Linked DNA regions of Homo sapiens: all the other regions are linked to region 2. The links are contacts of gene promoters, found by promoter capture Hi-C in blood cells and fetal thymus (Javierre and others, 2016). All regions are on one chromosome and are shown on one strand. Each heading gives the region's core, a stretch centred on a gene start or on the middle of the fragment in contact. The rest is flanking DNA. Distances are from core to core; before and after follow the strand shown.

Evidence for each region. Contacts are between HindIII fragments. The CHiCAGO score rates a contact against its expected background, and 5 or more counts as called.
Region 1: a fragment that was not itself captured here is called in contact with the fragment with the promoter of SOCS6 in region 2 in 2 of 17 cell types (M1 macrophages and M0 macrophages); the score reaches 5.8 in M1 macrophages.
Region 3: a fragment that was not itself captured here is called in contact with the fragment with the promoter of SOCS6 in region 2 in 3 of 17 cell types (M1 macrophages, M2 macrophages and M0 macrophages); the score reaches 7.9 in M1 macrophages.
Region 4: a contact is called between a fragment that was not itself captured here and the fragment with the promoter of SOCS6 in region 2, in 4 of 17 cell types (M1 macrophages, M2 macrophages, M0 macrophages and 1 more). The highest score is 8.7, in M1 macrophages.
Region 5: a fragment that was not itself captured here is called in contact with the fragment with the promoter of SOCS6 in region 2 in 3 of 17 cell types (M1 macrophages, M0 macrophages and M2 macrophages); the score reaches 11.4 in M1 macrophages.
Region 6: a fragment that was not itself captured here is called in contact with the fragment with the promoter of SOCS6 in region 2 in 2 of 17 cell types (M1 macrophages and M0 macrophages); the score reaches 5.9 in M1 macrophages.

What each region holds. Positions count from the first base shown.
Region 1 is chr18:70,352,455-70,355,298 of GRCh38, forward strand. It overlaps LINC01909 (long intergenic non-protein coding RNA 1909), which reads left to right. Exons shown (of 4, transcript NR_126336.1): 4 at 1-5. Among named protein-coding and RNA genes, the nearest start is that of LIVAR, 16 kb to the left of the region's middle. The HindIII fragment of the contact is 740 bases long and covers 1,040-1,779 here.
Region 2 is chr18:70,287,699-70,290,398 of GRCh38, forward strand. It overlaps SOCS6 (suppressor of cytokine signaling 6), which reads left to right and starts at 1,347. Exons shown (of 2, transcript NM_004232.4): 1 at 1,347-1,392. RefSeq lists a silencer at 1,183-2,082. The HindIII fragment of the contact is 7,416 bases long and covers 400-2,700 here.
Region 3 is chr18:70,190,149-70,192,955 of GRCh38, forward strand. RTTN (rotatin) reads right to left here. Exons shown (of 49, transcript NM_173630.4): 9 at 390-571. Among named protein-coding and RNA genes, the nearest start is that of RTTN, 14 kb to the right of the region's middle. The HindIII fragment of the contact is 5,665 bases long and covers 1-2,807 here.
Region 4 is chr18:70,388,792-70,391,491 of GRCh38, forward strand. No RefSeq gene overlaps it. Among named protein-coding and RNA genes, the nearest start is that of LINC01910, 5.6 kb to the left of the region's middle. The HindIII fragment of the contact is 4,847 bases long and covers 1-2,700 here.
Region 5 is chr18:70,369,373-70,372,124 of GRCh38, forward strand. No RefSeq gene overlaps it. Among named protein-coding and RNA genes, the nearest start is that of LINC01910, 14 kb to the right of the region's middle. The HindIII fragment of the contact is 1,981 bases long and covers 270-2,250 here.
Region 6 is chr18:70,173,598-70,176,297 of GRCh38, forward strand. The region is part of intron 11 of RTTN (rotatin); the gene reads right to left. Among named protein-coding and RNA genes, the nearest start is that of RTTN, 31 kb to the right of the region's middle. The HindIII fragment of the contact is 646 bases long and covers 993-1,638 here.

The DNA of each region.
Region 1 (2,844 bases), core at 160-2,659, 65 kb after region 2:
GCGCCTTTTATGAGGAGATATTAATTGAACAAAATGCCTGTCCTCACAGAGTCGACATTCTGATGGAGGGTGCTAGGAGAAGAGAGGGAAAGACAATAAACATGTAAACAAATAAACATGGCATATCAAACGTCAGATTATGACTTCCACTTCTGGCTGTGAAAAGCCATCTTGTAGCTGATTAACCATCCCACCTAAAACACTACATCTGAAACATAAAGAAAACACTGGGGAGCAGCCAACTTAGGCAGGCGGGACTTGATGGGTTACAGTGCTCCAGACAGAAAACCCAGGGAGGAAGCTCCACGATTACCCTGGTTTTTCCCCGAGCACATTTTCCAAACTGCAGCATGCATGAAAAGACTTGAAGCTGAAAGTGGCAGTCTTAGCAAGTAAAGGGACAACAGCCAGTGTGTAGAGCTATCAAAGTATCTTGAACTTGAGGGACAAAACCTTAGAAAGTGAGGAATCACAAACAAACAACAACAACAAAAAATAACAAAAAACAAGGAATTTCATACAATTTCCCTCAAGCCATTGTTGGACTCTTTTTTTTTTTTTTTTTGAGACAGAGTCTTGCTCCCATCGCCCAGGCTGGAGTGCAGTGGCGAGATCTCGGCTCACTGCAACCTCCGCCTCCTGGGTTCAAGCAATTCTCCTGCCTCAGCCTCCCGAGTAGCTGAGACTACAGGCGCCCAACACCACGCCCGACTAATATTTGGTATTTTTAGTAGAGACGGGGTTTCACCGTGTTAGCCAGGATGGTCTCAATCTCCTGACCTCAATCTGCCCGCCTCAGCCTCCCAAAGTGCTGGGATTATAGGCGTGAGCCACCGCGCCTGGCCATTGTTGGACCCTTAAAATATTCATGCAAAGAGTAAAACTTCAAGAACCTTAGAAAGAAAAAAAGCCTAAAAAAAGAATCTTAGAAGAAAACAACAGCAGGGAGGCTGAAGAGCCAAACAGAGACATTAGCAGCTATGAAATGCTGGGGAGACAGTTGCTGGAGTTCAAGTAGAGTGGGGTTGGTAAGCACTTAAGCTTTAAATCAAGACCTCAGGGTGGCTGTGCCAGAAGAGTAAGGAAAACTTAAATAGGCCAGACTTAACAATGCCTACAACCAAGTTTCAAAGGAATCCGTTACCTAGCCTTCCTTCAACAAGAAAACTTAACCCTCTTTGAAGGAAGGTAATAATAGTTCAGAGCTTCTAAAATTTTTCATCCACAATGTTCAGCATCTAGTAAAAAATTATCAGTAATGCTAAAAAGCTGGAACAAGGGACCCCAGGCCAGACTGTAGGAAAAAAGAAGACAATAGAAGTGTGCCCAGATGGGAAATCTCAGCTGAGAAATGGAAACTCCCAAAAAGAATCAAGTGGAAACTCTACAACCAAAAAATACTCTATCTGAAATTTAAAACTTGATTGCATAGGTTTAACAGCAAATTGGAGACTGAAACTGTCAGAGTTGGTCAACTTGAAGGTAGATCAATAGAAATTATATTCTGAAGACCTACAGAAGAAATGGTTGGAAAAAATTAGGAGCCTCAGTAATACTTAGGAAGTTATCAAACAGTCTAACAAAACTCAAATAGGAGTCCTACAGGAAGAGGAGAGCAAGAAAAGGATAAAATATTTGAAAAAAGATAAAAAATTACCTAAAATTGGTGAAATAATAATTTACAAATCCCAGACAGCCAACAAACCCCAAGCAGGATAAATGCAGAGAACTATACCTAGGGACATCATAATCAGACTATTTAAAGAGAAAAACCTTATAAGCTTCTGGGAATGAGAGGATGACACATAATTTCCAGAGGAACAACAATACAATGACAGCTAACTTCTCATCAGAAACAATAGAGTCCAAAAGACAATGGACTTTTTTTTTTTTTTTTTTTTTTTTTTGTGATGGAGTCTCACTCTTGTCGTCCAGGCTGGAATGCAATGGCACAACATCGGCTCACTGCAACCTCCACCTCCCCAGTTTAAGAGCTTCTCCAGCCTCGGCCTCCCGAGTAGCTGGAATTACAGGTGGGCGCCACCAGGCCTGGCTAATTTTTGTATTTTTAGTAGAGACAGGGTTTTGCCATGTTGGCCAGGCTGGTCTCAAACTCCTGACTTCAGGTGATCCTCCCACCTCAGCCTCCCAAAGTCCTGGGGTTACAGGCGTGAGCCACCGTGCCCAGCTGACAACGGACTATCTTTAATGAGCTTAAAGAGAAAAAGTCAACCCAGAATTCTATTTCCATTAAAAATAACTTTCCAAAAGAGGGTAAAATAGTTAAACAAAAGGTGAGAAAACTTATTTATCCTCAGACCTGCATTATGAGAAACATTAACATGTATTTTAAGTAGCAGTTAGACACCTTCAGTTTTCCTTAGTTGCCCTAATTCCGTAAGCTGTCCAGGCCTATCACATGTGCTGATAAGGGCTTAAGACAACTATTTCAAGGTTCCTAATAAAATGATTGCCTCTGTTTTAATGATGTTGAGCTAGGTATAAAATAAATTGCCATTTTCCAGAATAGAAATGGGGAGGGACATTCTCTTTACATTTATTATGACAACTAGCCATATGAACACAGGTGGTTAACTTTTCTACCCCTTAAGATGTAGGTAGAGAAGCCAGTACATCCAGTATATTTAGTGCAGCTAGGCCTGCTTCTATATGGAAGTTCTTGCTCAGCGTGTGCTTACCACTAAATGACAGAAAGTGGAAAATAATTGGCTGAGCAGGAAAGTTAGAGGAAAAGGGCAGAGTCTTTGATCTGCTATAAAGCATAAAAACTTTGCTCCTCGTGAAACAGAGCACAATGACTATCTCAGGAATTGACCAAATACA
Region 2 (2,700 bases), core at 97-2,596:
TGTTGCATTTCAATCACGGTAACAATAATGGTAGTATTTTATTAATAAATTCAAGTAAAAACTGAAGATGACAATGATAGTGTATGATACATGACATCAACTTTGCATCACCTAAAGATCCAACTTTTCTGTTATGAATCTAGATTTCTTGGGGAAATCCAGATTGTATATTGGACATAGGAATTAAGATTACTGGACTTGAACTTTTTTGTAACTAACAACTTTATTGAGATATAATTCGGGTACCAACTCATACCTGAACAGCTTTTTAGACTTTTTTTCTAGCCCTTTTTTCTCTGTCCTTTCGGTTTTCTTTTAAAAAGGTCCATACTATTCAAGAAACACAACTTTTAAAGTCCACAATAATTCTCATTAGATTTTAATATTTATCTCCCCCCAAGCTTTACTGAAATACTAATGATATTCATTTTTTTAACCACTTTTCATCGTAAGAGAAATACAAATTTTCCTATTGATTCTTATGCACAAAAATCAAGTTTTTGTGGTACTGCTATACATTAGTAGTATGTTCAGCCAGTTTCCAAAGAAATTAGTCAAGATCCCAACATGCAACTTGTATACCACACTACCTTGGAATTCGGCGGCACAAACAACTATTCCTTGTACAAAACCTCCCTGAAAACGACTAAATGGAAAAGTGGATGGCTTGAAACAAGGAATGTTTGGTTTTTTAAAAAGCATTTTTCACAATTTAGTCGAGGTGTGGGGAGGGTTTCCCCACTTGTGGCTCTGCACAGCGTGCGCGCGCGTCTGTCCTGGGGTCCCCTCCCTGCGGGGACGAGGCCGGGGTCCCCGCGCGAGCCCAGCGGACCTGGGCAGTGCGGGGGTCCGACCGCCCGCCACAGGGGGACAGGGACCGCAGCCGCCAAATCCGCGGGGCCGGGGAACGAGGAGACTTTCCTTTCCGCGTTAGCCGGGGCCACCCCCGCCAGAGGGAAAGCACCAAAGGAAAAACCAGGACAGGGACTCTGGGGGCCGGAGGAGCGGCCTCCTGCAGGCACCAGCGGAGGGGCGCGGGGGTGGGGGAAGGGATCAGGGCTCCGCGCTCCGTCCGCCCCACGACCCCGGCCCGGCGCCCCTCCCCTCGGAACCCCCACTTAGTGCCCGGCCCCCGCCCCGCCCCGCGCGGCCCCCGGCCTCAGCCCCGCGCGCCCCGACGCCCCGCCTGCGCCGCGGGCCCGAGTAGTGGACGGGGGGCGGCCCGCTCGGCTCCTCCGCACCCGCTCCCCGCTCGGGCCGAGGCGCCGCGGCCGCGCGCCCCTCCTGGAGGAGGAGGAGGAAGGAGGCGGGAGGAGGAGTTGCCGAGAGGAGAAGGCGAGCGCGGCAGTCGCGCCGGCGCTGGGCGAGGAAGCGGAGCCGGGCCGCCTCCGGGTAAGCGTCCGGGGAGCTCGGGCGGGAGGCAGGGGCAGGGCTTCGCCGTCCGCCTCCGGGTCGCCCGCGGTCCGGGACACGGCTGGTTTTCGCCTCGGAGTGCAGGGGGCGGATCCGGCGCGGGCCGGGCCAGGGAGGCCGCCGGGCGCGGGGCTGCAGCGACGGGTCTGGGTCAGCGCGAGGCCCTGCGCCGTCTCGGCGGGTGCGCGGGCGGGGGCCAGGGCCGGGGAACGGGGGCCGGGGCCAGTCCCGGGAGCGGGGACGCGGAAACCGGGAAGCCGGGGCCGGGGCGCGGCGGCCCCTGAAGGGCCGAGGCCTGCGCGGCCGCGGACGGCTCTTCTCGACCCCTCGGCCTCTTCGGCCGCGGCGCGCCGGCCTGGGCCGCCGCCTTTGTTGCCCGCAGCTCGCCGGGGAGAGGCCGGGGCTCCGCGAGGCCTGGGCAGCGGCGCGGGGCCTGCGCGGCTCTGCGCCCCGGCCGGGTCCCTCCTCGGACCTCCGCGGGCTCGGGCTCGGGCTCGGGGTCGGGGCGCGGCGAGGCCGCAGGCGCGAGGGCGGGCCTGGGGCGCGGCGCTGGGACTCGGGGACGCCCCCGCCCCACCGCGAGGTCGCGCCGGCGCTGGTGGAGGTGCAGGCCGGGGCTGCTCTGCGGCTGAAGGTGCCGCCGGCCGGCTGCGCACTCACCCGGGTGTAGGGACCGGACGATTGTGGAATTTAAACCGCTCCTGGGACCGACACGGGCCTGAATTTTCAGTTTGCTTCGGGAGTTGGCAACTTCAGGTACACCCTTGTGGCTCACGGAGCAGAATTATGGACGTTTCTCAGGGGCAGATCCTGGCACAAAACTTGGGATATGTGCAGTAGTGTGTGTGCCAACTTAACGTTCAGTTGGAATGTGAAATTGGGGTTCCCATCCCCACTGTTTGGAATGAAGGGCCAGGTGGGAATATGTGGCGGGACTCAGTCTTCCGGTAGCAAAATAAATAATGTTGAATTCATTTCAACAAATGTTTCTGCAACGTCTGCCCGGATAAGGCAGCATGCACTGTGCATGAGGACAGAGAACACAGTAATGACAGAAATAACGTGAATTACACACTGAACGTCTCCCAGAGACATTTTAAATTTACTGTGTTCCTTGGGATAAAGATACATTTGGAATCAAACAAAAGTAAACGTTCTACTTCAAGATAAAATATCTGACATCTTCTCAACCACTGAAGGTAGCAATTTATCTTGACTTGTTTTTAACCAACTACCACAACATTAAATCCATTTAGCTTACTTGAATGAACGAATCTTAATTGTAAT
Region 3 (2,807 bases), core at 101-2,600, 98 kb before region 2:
GTCCACCTTTTATACCTTATTCCAGTTGCTGAATGTTGTCACTGCTCAAATTTAAAATAGCCATACAGTCCAAAAAAAAAAGAAAAAAATAGATGACAGCAAGAATAAATGCAAAAAATAGATAAAAATTCTAAAAAAAAAATAAGCATGAAAGCCTGTGCCAATAAAAACTCATAAAATGGAAGGGCAAGCTGAATAGCCCTCCAAGGCATCCACATTTAATTTAAAAATAATAAAGACCTTATTAGGTTTTTAGAAATTTATATCCCAAAAGATAAGTAAATACAGATTCCAAAGGCCCTAACATAGAAGAGAAAAAAAGGAAAATCCTAACGAAATACAAAACAGACACAAATTATATCAGAATTACGATTTCTAAAACAACTAACCTGTTCTTAAGAGAGGAACAGCTGATTCCAGAATGGAGACACAAAACTGGGGAAGACTGAGCTGCTGGAATTGTAGTTCCAATGTGTCTTCAGTTTCCAGCTCTGGCAGATCTATGTGTCCCATATCCAAAGGTGAATGAACGGATATCCTGGAGTTTACATGAGCATGACTACTACTTCCACTGCAAGATAAACAAATGATAAACCTTGCATACAGAAACAATCCCCAAACAGATTTACTGCATATCTGCTGCCTCGCATATTAGAAGCCTCATACAAGTCACAACTCTACTGCTTCATTCAACTCTGGTCAGATTTGTAGAAACTTTGACAAATTTACGAAATTAAATTCCATAAAGATGACTCAAGGCCAGGAGTGGTGGCTCATGCCTGTCATCCCAGCACTTTGGGAGGCCAAGGCGGGCAGATCACCTGAGGTCAGGAGTTCAAGACCAGCCTGGCCAACATGGTGAAATCCCACCTCTACTAAAAATACAAAAAAAAAAATTCGCTGGGCATGGTGGCACACACCTGTAATCCCAGCTACTGGGGAGGCTGAGGCGGGAGAATCTTCTGAGCCCAGGAGGTAGACGTTGCAGTGAGCTGAGATAGCGACACTGCACTCCAGCCTGGGCGACAGAGCAAGACTCCATCTCAAAAAAAAAAAAAGACTCTAAATTGTAAATGAAGCCAAAAATGCATCTATATTTTGCTTGTCAGGCTGATATCTCAAAACATGTCAACATTCCTATAGTAGGAATCAATATTAGCACTGATAACCCATTCATTTCCAAAAGGAAATAAGCAGATTTATAGGAAAGCTCTTCTGTAATCAACGTGTAGAGACAAAACCAATAGTTCATACCGTTTCCTAGATTTTCTGAGTTTCACCACTGTTCTGAGTAAGCCAGTGTTAGTAAATGAAGGATGTTTCTAGAAAAACCTCATGGGAAATGTATTACTTCACTTAGTACATTCGACATCATGTAGTGACTTCAAAAATGCACCCAAAAAAACGGAACATCCCATTGTCCTTGGCTTTCTTCATTAAAAAGTTCTTACCTCGGATGTAAAGTGCTGGAGTAAGGATTTAAAAAGTGTAGAAAGGCTAGAGCCTCACACTTACAAAGAGCCTCAAAATTTTGTCTTTTGATGTTATCCACAACCGAAGCTGGATCACAAGAGACATATTAATGCTATGGAACATTTAAATTTGCCCAAATTATAAACCAACTTTGTCGTTTCTTCAATTTCAAGATACCAAGCACCCCAAAATATGGAAACAACTCGGGCTTCTCTGTAACTCTGAAAGGAAGTTTCAGTGAGGAAGCTGTTCACTCAGGAGTGAAAACTTAGAAGCATGAAGCACACAAGAGAATGAGGCAGAAAGGCTTCAGGAGAAAGAGAAAAACATGGCTGAACAACCAACTACAATATAAGGACTAAGAGCATAGACTCTCCTATCATTTTATTTAACCCTAGCTCTGCTCTTTACCAACTGTTATGCTCTTAACCTCTCTAAACCTCAATGAGGATGATAATAATAATACTAATGCTATATATAATATCAATCCTATTCTAGGACAACTAAAGGAGACAAAGTATGCAAAGCACAGGGCATAACACCATACACACAGCAGGTATGAATCAGTATTAGCTTGTTAACAGTAGTAGCAGTATTGCAAGAAAATAATTAAGCCAACAGACCAATGCTTAACTTAGTGAACATTTTTTAGAATGACACTAAAGAGACTAATATGTTTCTAACACATTTGCACCCAAGGATAAGGTAACATACAAATACCACACCAATCCTTTTAAGCAGAGTTGGTGTATGAAAATCTGGGTGCCAAGCACTGGGGGCCAAGCATGGTGACTCATGTCTGTAATCTCAGCACTTTACGAGGCCAAGATGGGAAGATCACTTGAGCCCAGGAGTTCGAGACCAGCCTGGGAAACATAGTGAGACCCCATCTCTACAAAAAATAAAAGGCTTAGCCAAGTATGGTAGTGCACATCTGTGGTCCCAGCCACTCAGGAGGCTGAGGCGAAAGGATCACTTGAGCCCAGAAGTCAAGGCTATAATCGTGCCACTGCACTCCAGCCTAGGCAAGAGAGTGAGACCTTGTCTCAAAAAAAAAAAAAAAAAAAAGAAAAAAATCTGTATTTACACAAACAAATACCATAAATTGTTCACCTTGAAGGAGTCCTTATTTTATAAAATTCTCCAACCATTCCTTTTAACAGTAAACACTTATCCATTTGTTATAAGACTTACAAAAATATGTGTAAAATACTATCAACAATGTATCTATCATTTAAAGCTATTCTTTTAAACTTGATCATATTCCGTTTGCAGCTGGTAAAAACAATTTATTGGGTCAGAATCATTTCTTTTCTAATGAAATCGGAACTGAA
Region 4 (2,700 bases), core at 200-2,699, 100 kb after region 2:
TGCACCCATCACCTGAGCAGTGTATACTGCATCGTATGTGTTGTCTTTTATCCCTTGCCTCCCTCCCACTCTTCCCGCCAAGTCCCCCAAGTCCATTGTATCATTTTTTTTTTTTTGAGACAGAATTTCACTCTTGTTGCCCAGGCTGGAGTGCAATGGCGCGATCTTGGCTCACCGCAACCTCCACCTCCCGAGTTCAAGTGATTCTCCTGCCTCAGCCTCCCTAGTAGCTGGGATTACAGGCATGTGCCACCCACGCCCAGCTAATTTTGTATTTTTAGTAGAGATGGGGTTTCTCCATGTTGGTCATGTTGGTCTCGAACTCCCGACCTCAGGTGATCCACCCACCTTGGCCTCCCAAAGTGCTGGGATTACTGGCATGAGCCACCGTGCCCGGCCCATTGTATCTTTCTTATGCCTTTTTGTCCTCATAGCTTAGCTCCCACATATCAGTGAGGACACACTATGGGGTTTTCCATTCCTGAGTAATATGTAGTTAATTTTAAACCTACATTAAAAAAATGTAAGTTTTTAGTTTTCTTCAAGTTTTGTCTTTATGCAATTGAATATTTTTACCTTAAATTTTCTACTTTACCTTTATTCCTATTTTAATCACTAATATTTACTATTCTTATCACTACTATTGCTGCTAAATATTAATAATAATGCATTTCTATTGCTAGTTTTTGTCCCTCAGTTTCTTCTCTCCAGGTACAGTTGGTTCGGGTGCCTTCCTCTATACTTCTCTCTCTTTTTTTTTTTTTTTTTGAGATGGAGTCTTGCTCTGTCACCCAGGCTGGAGTGCAATGGCATGATCTCGGCTCACTGCAAGCTCCATCTCCTAGGTTCAAGCGATTCTCCCGCCTTAGCCTCCTGAGTAGCTGGGATTATAGGCACCCACCATCATGCCTGGCTAATTTTTGTATTTTTAATAGAGACAGGGTTTTACCATGTTGGCCAGGCTGGTCTTGAACTCCTGACCTCATGTGATCTGCCTGTCTCAGCCTCCCGAAGTGCTGGGATTGCAGGTGTGACCCACCGCGCCTGGCCTTTTTTTTTTTTTTTTTTTTTTGAGATTGAGTTTCACTCATGTTGCCTAGGCTGGACTGCAATGGTGCGATCTCGGCTCACTTCAGCCTTGCAACCTCTGCCTCTTGGGTTCAAGAGATTCTCCTGCCTCAGCCTCCCAAGTAGCTGGAATTAAAAGTATGTGCCACCACACCCAGCTAATTTTGTATTTTTAGTAGAGATGGGGTTTCACTATGTTGGTCAGGCTGGTCTCGAAATCTTGACCTCAGGTAATCCACCCGCCTTGGTCTCAAAGTGCTAGGATTACAGGCGTGAACCACTGCGCCAGGCCTTGATTTTTGCTTCCTTTGCAAATTTGACATAATCATCCTGTAAATCTTCATCTAAGTCATTAACTGAAATTCTGAGCAGGATGGGCTTGAGTACAGAATTCTGGCTCACTTCTCTGGCTGATTAACACTAACTGGGTGGATTTGTCCATGTGGCTTTAAGTGCACCTTAATGCATTACCATGTTAAATACCTTTTTGAAATTAAGACGTCCTAGGCTGGACATCCTCCAGATTCTACCTGTCTATCTTTTCGTTGCCCAGAAGCCATAATATGTGAACTGGCTGACTTGTTTTTGGTGGTGATTTAAGGTTGCCAAGCAGGAGTTTCAGAGCCAAATGTTGCACATGTAATTCTAGAGTTTGGACAGCTAAAAATTATCGGCAAATGTTTAACAACACATTTAACCACCAAACATGAAATGAAGTCATGGATGTTTGGGTGACAAGTGAATCAACCCATGGAACAGCTTGAAAAAAGAAAGAACCTAGTAATCCTAGTAATGTCAAGGGCAGGAGACAGAGGTGGGGACAGCTGAATTTTATTATTCCTGTGCCTCCATGAATGTCCATGCTGATATGGTCTAGGGAGACATAAAGACTTAAGTAGCTCTAGTTTAAACTGTGATATTCTGATATGACATTTTCACATTCATCTTAGTATTCCACCATGTTCATAGTCCCAACTAGTTCTGAGTCACTCAGAATTAATTCCAGATTGATGATGGCTTTACTATGTTTTCAAACATTTAATTGATGAATTATCTTCACGGTATTTCTTAAGGCATGTCAAGTATTTATCAGAGGTTTTGCTTTTAGAAAAAAATGAATCTAATGGTTAAAATTTTTTTTCCGTGAATTGTATCTTGGCACTTTATACCCTTTTTTTTTTTTTTTTTTTTTTTTTTTGTAGAGACAGGGTCTCACTATGTTGCCCAGGCCAGTCTCAAAATCCTGCCTCAAGCAGTCCTCCTGCCTTGGCCTTCCAAAATGCTCGGATTATAGGCGTAAGTCACTGCAGCTGGCCCAGCCATTTTTGTGATTTATTGGAAAAATATTGTTATGTATTTATAATAATAAGGTAAGAGGTCTGTCAGACACTGCTACAGTCACTTCTCTGTCTCTCTTTAGCACTAGCCCAATATTCTGCATTGTTTTTGCACGCACCTGCACGTTAGAATATTGCTCTCTCTGTACTTTAGCACACAGTATTACTTTAAAATTCTTTCTTCTTCTTTTTTTTTTTTTTTTTTGAGACGGAGTCTTGCTCTGTCACCCAGGCTGGAGTGCAGTGGCGCATCTCGGCTCACTGCAAGCTCTGCCTCCCGGGTTCACGCCATTCT
Region 5 (2,752 bases), core at 10-2,509, 82 kb after region 2:
AAGGAGATTGGGTTTTATCTTGTAGATCGAGCATTCTCACCCTCGTAGTATATATGAGGATCCTGAAGGGAGCCCGATAGGAATGCAGACTTCTGGGCTTCTCAGTGACTACATCAGAAACTCCATGAGGTTTGAAGCCCTAGAACCTGCCATATTTTAAAGTTCTTGAGATGGTCCAGCCTGTGGACCAAAGTGTGGGAGCCACTATTGCAGATGATAAAGAAATGCAGGATGTTTTTGAGGCAGAAGTTTTAATGTGAATTCCAGGAAGCTTCGTTTTGCAGAAGGGAGCGTCTAAGATGACTTACTGGAGAAAAATATACCTGAGTTCAGGAGGCTAGCTGAGAAGCTGTTTCCCAGGCCCATTCATTAATATTTCCCAACAATTATTTATTAAGTACCTTCTATATGTGAGACATTGCTTTATAATATAGTCTCGAGGCTTCCATCCTTGGTGCCCATCAGAATTATCTGAGGTTTCTTAAGAGCCCAGTACCCCAGGCTGCACTCAAGGCCAATTCTCTAGGGGTGGACCCAGACATCATGATTTGTAAAAGCTGCCAAGTGATTCCAGTGCAGAGAGACCCTCTGCTGAGAGGAAACAGATGAATAAGAATTAGCGCTTCTTCCCTTCAAAACTTGCAGTCTTGTAGGGAAAATTAAACATGTGCAGCAAAGTGAACATATTTATCTGCAACAAAATGTAATCATTAGAGGAAGATTGAGATTCTGAGTACCACTTGGAAATTTGATAGACTTCATCTCTGGGTCAAAGTACTTGTCTGGATCTAGGGGGAAAAAGGAATCAAAATAGAAGTGGGAAGAATTGTTGCCCTAACAGCCCACACTGGGGTCCAAAAAATATTCTCTGAGTGCTCTGCAGGATCTTACACCCTCAGACTCCTTACTGCTCTCCCTTCTTTGTTCCATCTTAGCAAATCCAAACCTCCACTTACTTCTACCTACACATTTACAGCTGGCCATGGCTGGAGAAAAACCTGCAACCAGTTGATGGGTCTTATTTCACATTCTTGAGCACACAGTGCAAGTGGTATTGCACTCCTGCCTGGAAAGTCATCCTATTTATTTAATTTATTTATTATTTATTTTGGAGACAGTGTCTCACTCTGTCACCCAGGCTGGAGTGCAGTGGCGCGATCTGGGCTCACTGCAACCTCCGCCTCCCAGGTTGAAGCAATTCTGCCTCAGTCTCCCGAGTAGATGGGATTACAGGCACCCGCCACCACACCTAGCTACTTTTTGTATTTTAAGTAGAAACAGGGTTTTACCATGTTGGCCGGGCTGGTCTCGAACTCCTGACCTCAACTGATCCACCCTCCTCAGCCTCCCAAAGTGCTGGGATTCCTTTTAAAACTTAGGTCCTGTTACTCCTGTCCTTGAAACCCTACAATGACTACCTAGTTAACTTGGAGCAGCAGTTCTTCCAGGGTGCACATGGCCATACTGTTCTCCACTGTCCCTATGTCCCCGGCCTCCACCACACCCAGGGGCTCCCTTGCAGGGCTTGGCATCAGCTCTTCCCTTTCCCTGGAGCATATCCACTTGGCCAGCTCTCTCACTTCCTGCCACTCCTGCTTAAATATCTCAGAGAGGTCCACCCTGACCACTGACTTAAAATTGCAACTCCTCCTACCCCCAAAGGCATTTCCATCCTCTTACCCTGGTTTACTACTCTTCATAGCACTTACGTCTTTTAACATACTACGTATTTTCTTTATTCTTATATTTATTACCTGACTCTTTACTAAATGAAAGCTCTTCAGGTAGGAATTTTCTTCTGGTTGTGATCACAAATGTATCCCCAGGGCCAGAGTAGCAAGTGGTACAGGGTTAGCCCCTGGATGAATGGATCAAAGGGGAAGTGCTTCTTCTGGCCACTTTGATGCAGCCGCCTGGGGACAGAGCAAGGAACCCTGAGCCAAGAAGAGTCCTGCTTTAGGTGGGGAGGGGGTGCCTTGCCTGAGGGAGCTGCTGACAGTAGGCTCCATTGTAAGTACAAGTGGTTCCTTTTTTGAGAACACCTAGAAACACCTGGAGGTACCTCCAGGGCTGGAGGATAGGAGTAGGTTATACCAGACTGAAAGTAAGAAGTACTCTAAGAGATAAATTGCTACAGGAGTTCAGATGATCAAAGAGAGAGTGAGTCATCACTTCTGAATGACGTCTGGATGTGGAGGCAGGTGAACAAGGTAGCCCAGAAGTAGGGGAGATGGAGGATGTTAAAAGAAAAGCTTCAGCCAGGTGCGGTGGCTCACGCCTGTAATCCCAGCATTTTGGGAGGCCAAGACGGGTGGATCACTTGAGGTCGGGAGTTCAAGACCAGCCTGACCAACATGGAGAAACCCCGTCTCTACTAAAAATACAAAAAATTAGCTGAGCGTCATGGCACATGCCTGTAATCCCAGCTACTCGGGAGGCTGAGGCAGGAGAATTGCTTGAACCTTGGAGGCGGAGGTTGCGGTGAGCTGAGATCGTGACATTGCACTCCAGCCTGGGCAACAAGAGTTGAAACTCTGTCTCAAAAAAGAAAAGAAAAGAAAAGCTTCAGCCAAATTAAATTTAACAGAGTTTAATTGAGCAAAGAACAATTGGTGAATCAGGCAGCCTCCTGAGCCAGAAGTAGGCTCAGGGACTCCAGCACAACCACGTGGCAGAAGACTTATGGACAGAAAAAGGAAAGTGACATACACAAAATGGAAGTGAGGAACAGAAACAGTGGGATTGGTTACAG
Region 6 (2,700 bases), core at 66-2,565, 110 kb before region 2:
AAGGAATAGTTTTCTAGTTTTCATAATTTCTCCCATACCTGCATTTTAGTGTGTCACTCCTTTGTTTTGGTAATAAGTACACCACGAAACACTGATGTCTGAATGATCTGAGATATTTTTACCACTAACATTCAAATTCAGAGATAACCTCACGTTTAAAAATACAGTCAGTAAGAAGATTTTAAAGAAATATTTACACATATTAAAATCACTTTTAACAGACTTCATACAATGGAATATTTTGTAATAAAAGTTAACAAATTAATGCTATAGGCAACAATAGTTATGAACCTCAAGAAGGAGTTGAGAGAGTACATACTTTATAATTTCATTTAAACAACATTCAAAACAGGCCAATTGATCTATAGTGACAGAAGTCAGAAAGGAGTGTGGCTTGGAGAAGGAGGGAGAGGTAACAGAGAAGGGGTCTTTGGAATGCTGGTAACATTCTATTTTCTGTTATGGGGGTGGTCACTTTTTAAAGACAGATGCATTCACTTAGTAGAAAAAGCACTGAACTATGTACTTTTCTGAATGTATATGAAAGTTTAAAAAAAAAAAAAAAAGCCTTTACAGAATTAATGTTTTTTTCTGATAGCATTTTAAAAATCATTTAAAAATTTAAGTGTTCTAGTTAAACTAACAGTGCACAATTTCAGAAACTGTAATTGGCAAACACACAGAAGAGACACCAGCCTTAGGCACTTTCAAAAAGTGCTTCTTTTTAGTAATTTCCCGGCCATATATTCTCACAATTATCTTTTCCGTGTACTACTCTTTTTATCCATTCTTTAGTTAAAAACAATGAAACTCGTGAAACTATAATATTTTTAAATTATGCTTATAATAAAAACATGTTTAAGCATTCAGCCTTTGAACTAGTAATGCCACTAGGAATTTAAGAATCCAAAATATGAGTAAACATGCGTAAGTAGCAATTCAGCATAGTGTTATTTATCAAAATACCAAAAAAAGAAAAAAAGAAACCTAAAAGCTTAATTTCTGGAATACTTGTGGAAATCATAGAACATCTTGCTGGTAAAATATTAGTACCCATTAAAATTTATGAAGTGTTTAATTAAATGGAAAATGTATGTTAGATAATAAGAAATGGTTAAAAAAAAAAAAAAGAGAATAAACAGGCCAGGTGCAGTGGCTCACGCGAGTACTCCCAGCACTTTGGGAGGCCGAGGCGGGCACATCACCTGAGGTCAGGAGTTCAAGATCAGCCTGGCAAACATGGCGAAATCTGGTCTCTACTAAAAAAAAAAAATACGAAAATTAGCTGGGTGTGGTGGCTCACACCTATAATCCCAGCTACTTGGGAGGCTGAGGAAGGAGAATCACTTGAACCTGGGAGGTGGAGGCTGCAGTGAGCCAAGAAAGTGCCACTGCACTCCAGCCTGGGTGACAGAGTGAGACTCCGTCTCAAAAACAAAACCAAAACCAAAAAAAAAAAAAAAAAAAAAGAATAAATAACTTTTATAGACGCTGTCAATTGGACTTAAAGCAGAAAAGAAAAAAGCCTCAAAACTAACTTGAAATTATAAATGAATTTTTATTCTTCTTTGTACATCAAAATGTTTTTTAAATGAACATTTTATTTTCTGAATAAAAGTTAAAAACTGAAAACACCAAAGCTTAAGAAAAGAAAGGTCTAGGTAAAATAGAAAAGTAGGAAAAAGAAAAGTACTAGAATAAAGACTAGCACAGAAGATAGTTTATTGCTATCATGGGCAGAAAAGCAGCTTTGTGAAAGACACCTAAAGCAACACGTTAATTAAAAAAACAACTTTCAAAAGACATACTAAGGTATGAAATCATATATTACGTAACTCAAACTACAAATATGGTTTAGACATAAAACAAGTTACCAAATATTAACTAGATGAATCAAATAAAAATCAGGATATTTAATCCTACCAAAGATGACTTCTGAAATTCTTTTGATCAGGTGCTAAAATAAAAATATTAAGCAATTAAGTTGCTGACAGAAAGGAAATAGTGGGATACCTTCAAGAGAAATGCATGGGACCAAAAAAAAAAAAAATCCCTTAAGTTACTAAAATATGCAACACACCAGCAATATACATAAAGTACAACAAATACAAGAAATAGGACAGTCCTCAGAAACCAACTTGACCAATACTTAGAAACTAAAGCACTGCTAACAGTATTTTGAATAGATAAAACAAGAAAAAGAAAAGGTTCCATGACATTAAGATATGCTAACTATAAAATAATTTCTGGAGCAGCAATGGAAACTATTGTTTGTATTCTGTGTGTCAAGGAACCTGGGAAATAGTGAATAAGTAAAGAACTCTGACAACACGTACCTAGCTGAAGAGAAGGAAAGGCTACTCTTGATATTAATGATAAGAACCAAGACACACACTGCAGAGATAAGATCAGTAGGCTTTCAATGCCCTCCAATCAATTAAAAGATACAAGTGTACCAATTATATATGTATATATGTATGGAAAAATGTATTCGTATATTAAGACATAATCTCTTCCCTCAAGTGATCCCAAAGTTATTAAAGAAACCAAAGAAGTCAAACATATACATGTATATGTATATGTATACGTAGATGTAGATGTAGATGTATATGTATATGTATATGTATATGTATATGTATATGTATATGTATATGTATATGTATAGATAACAGCCAAGTCTTGTCTTTTACAAAACTAAGT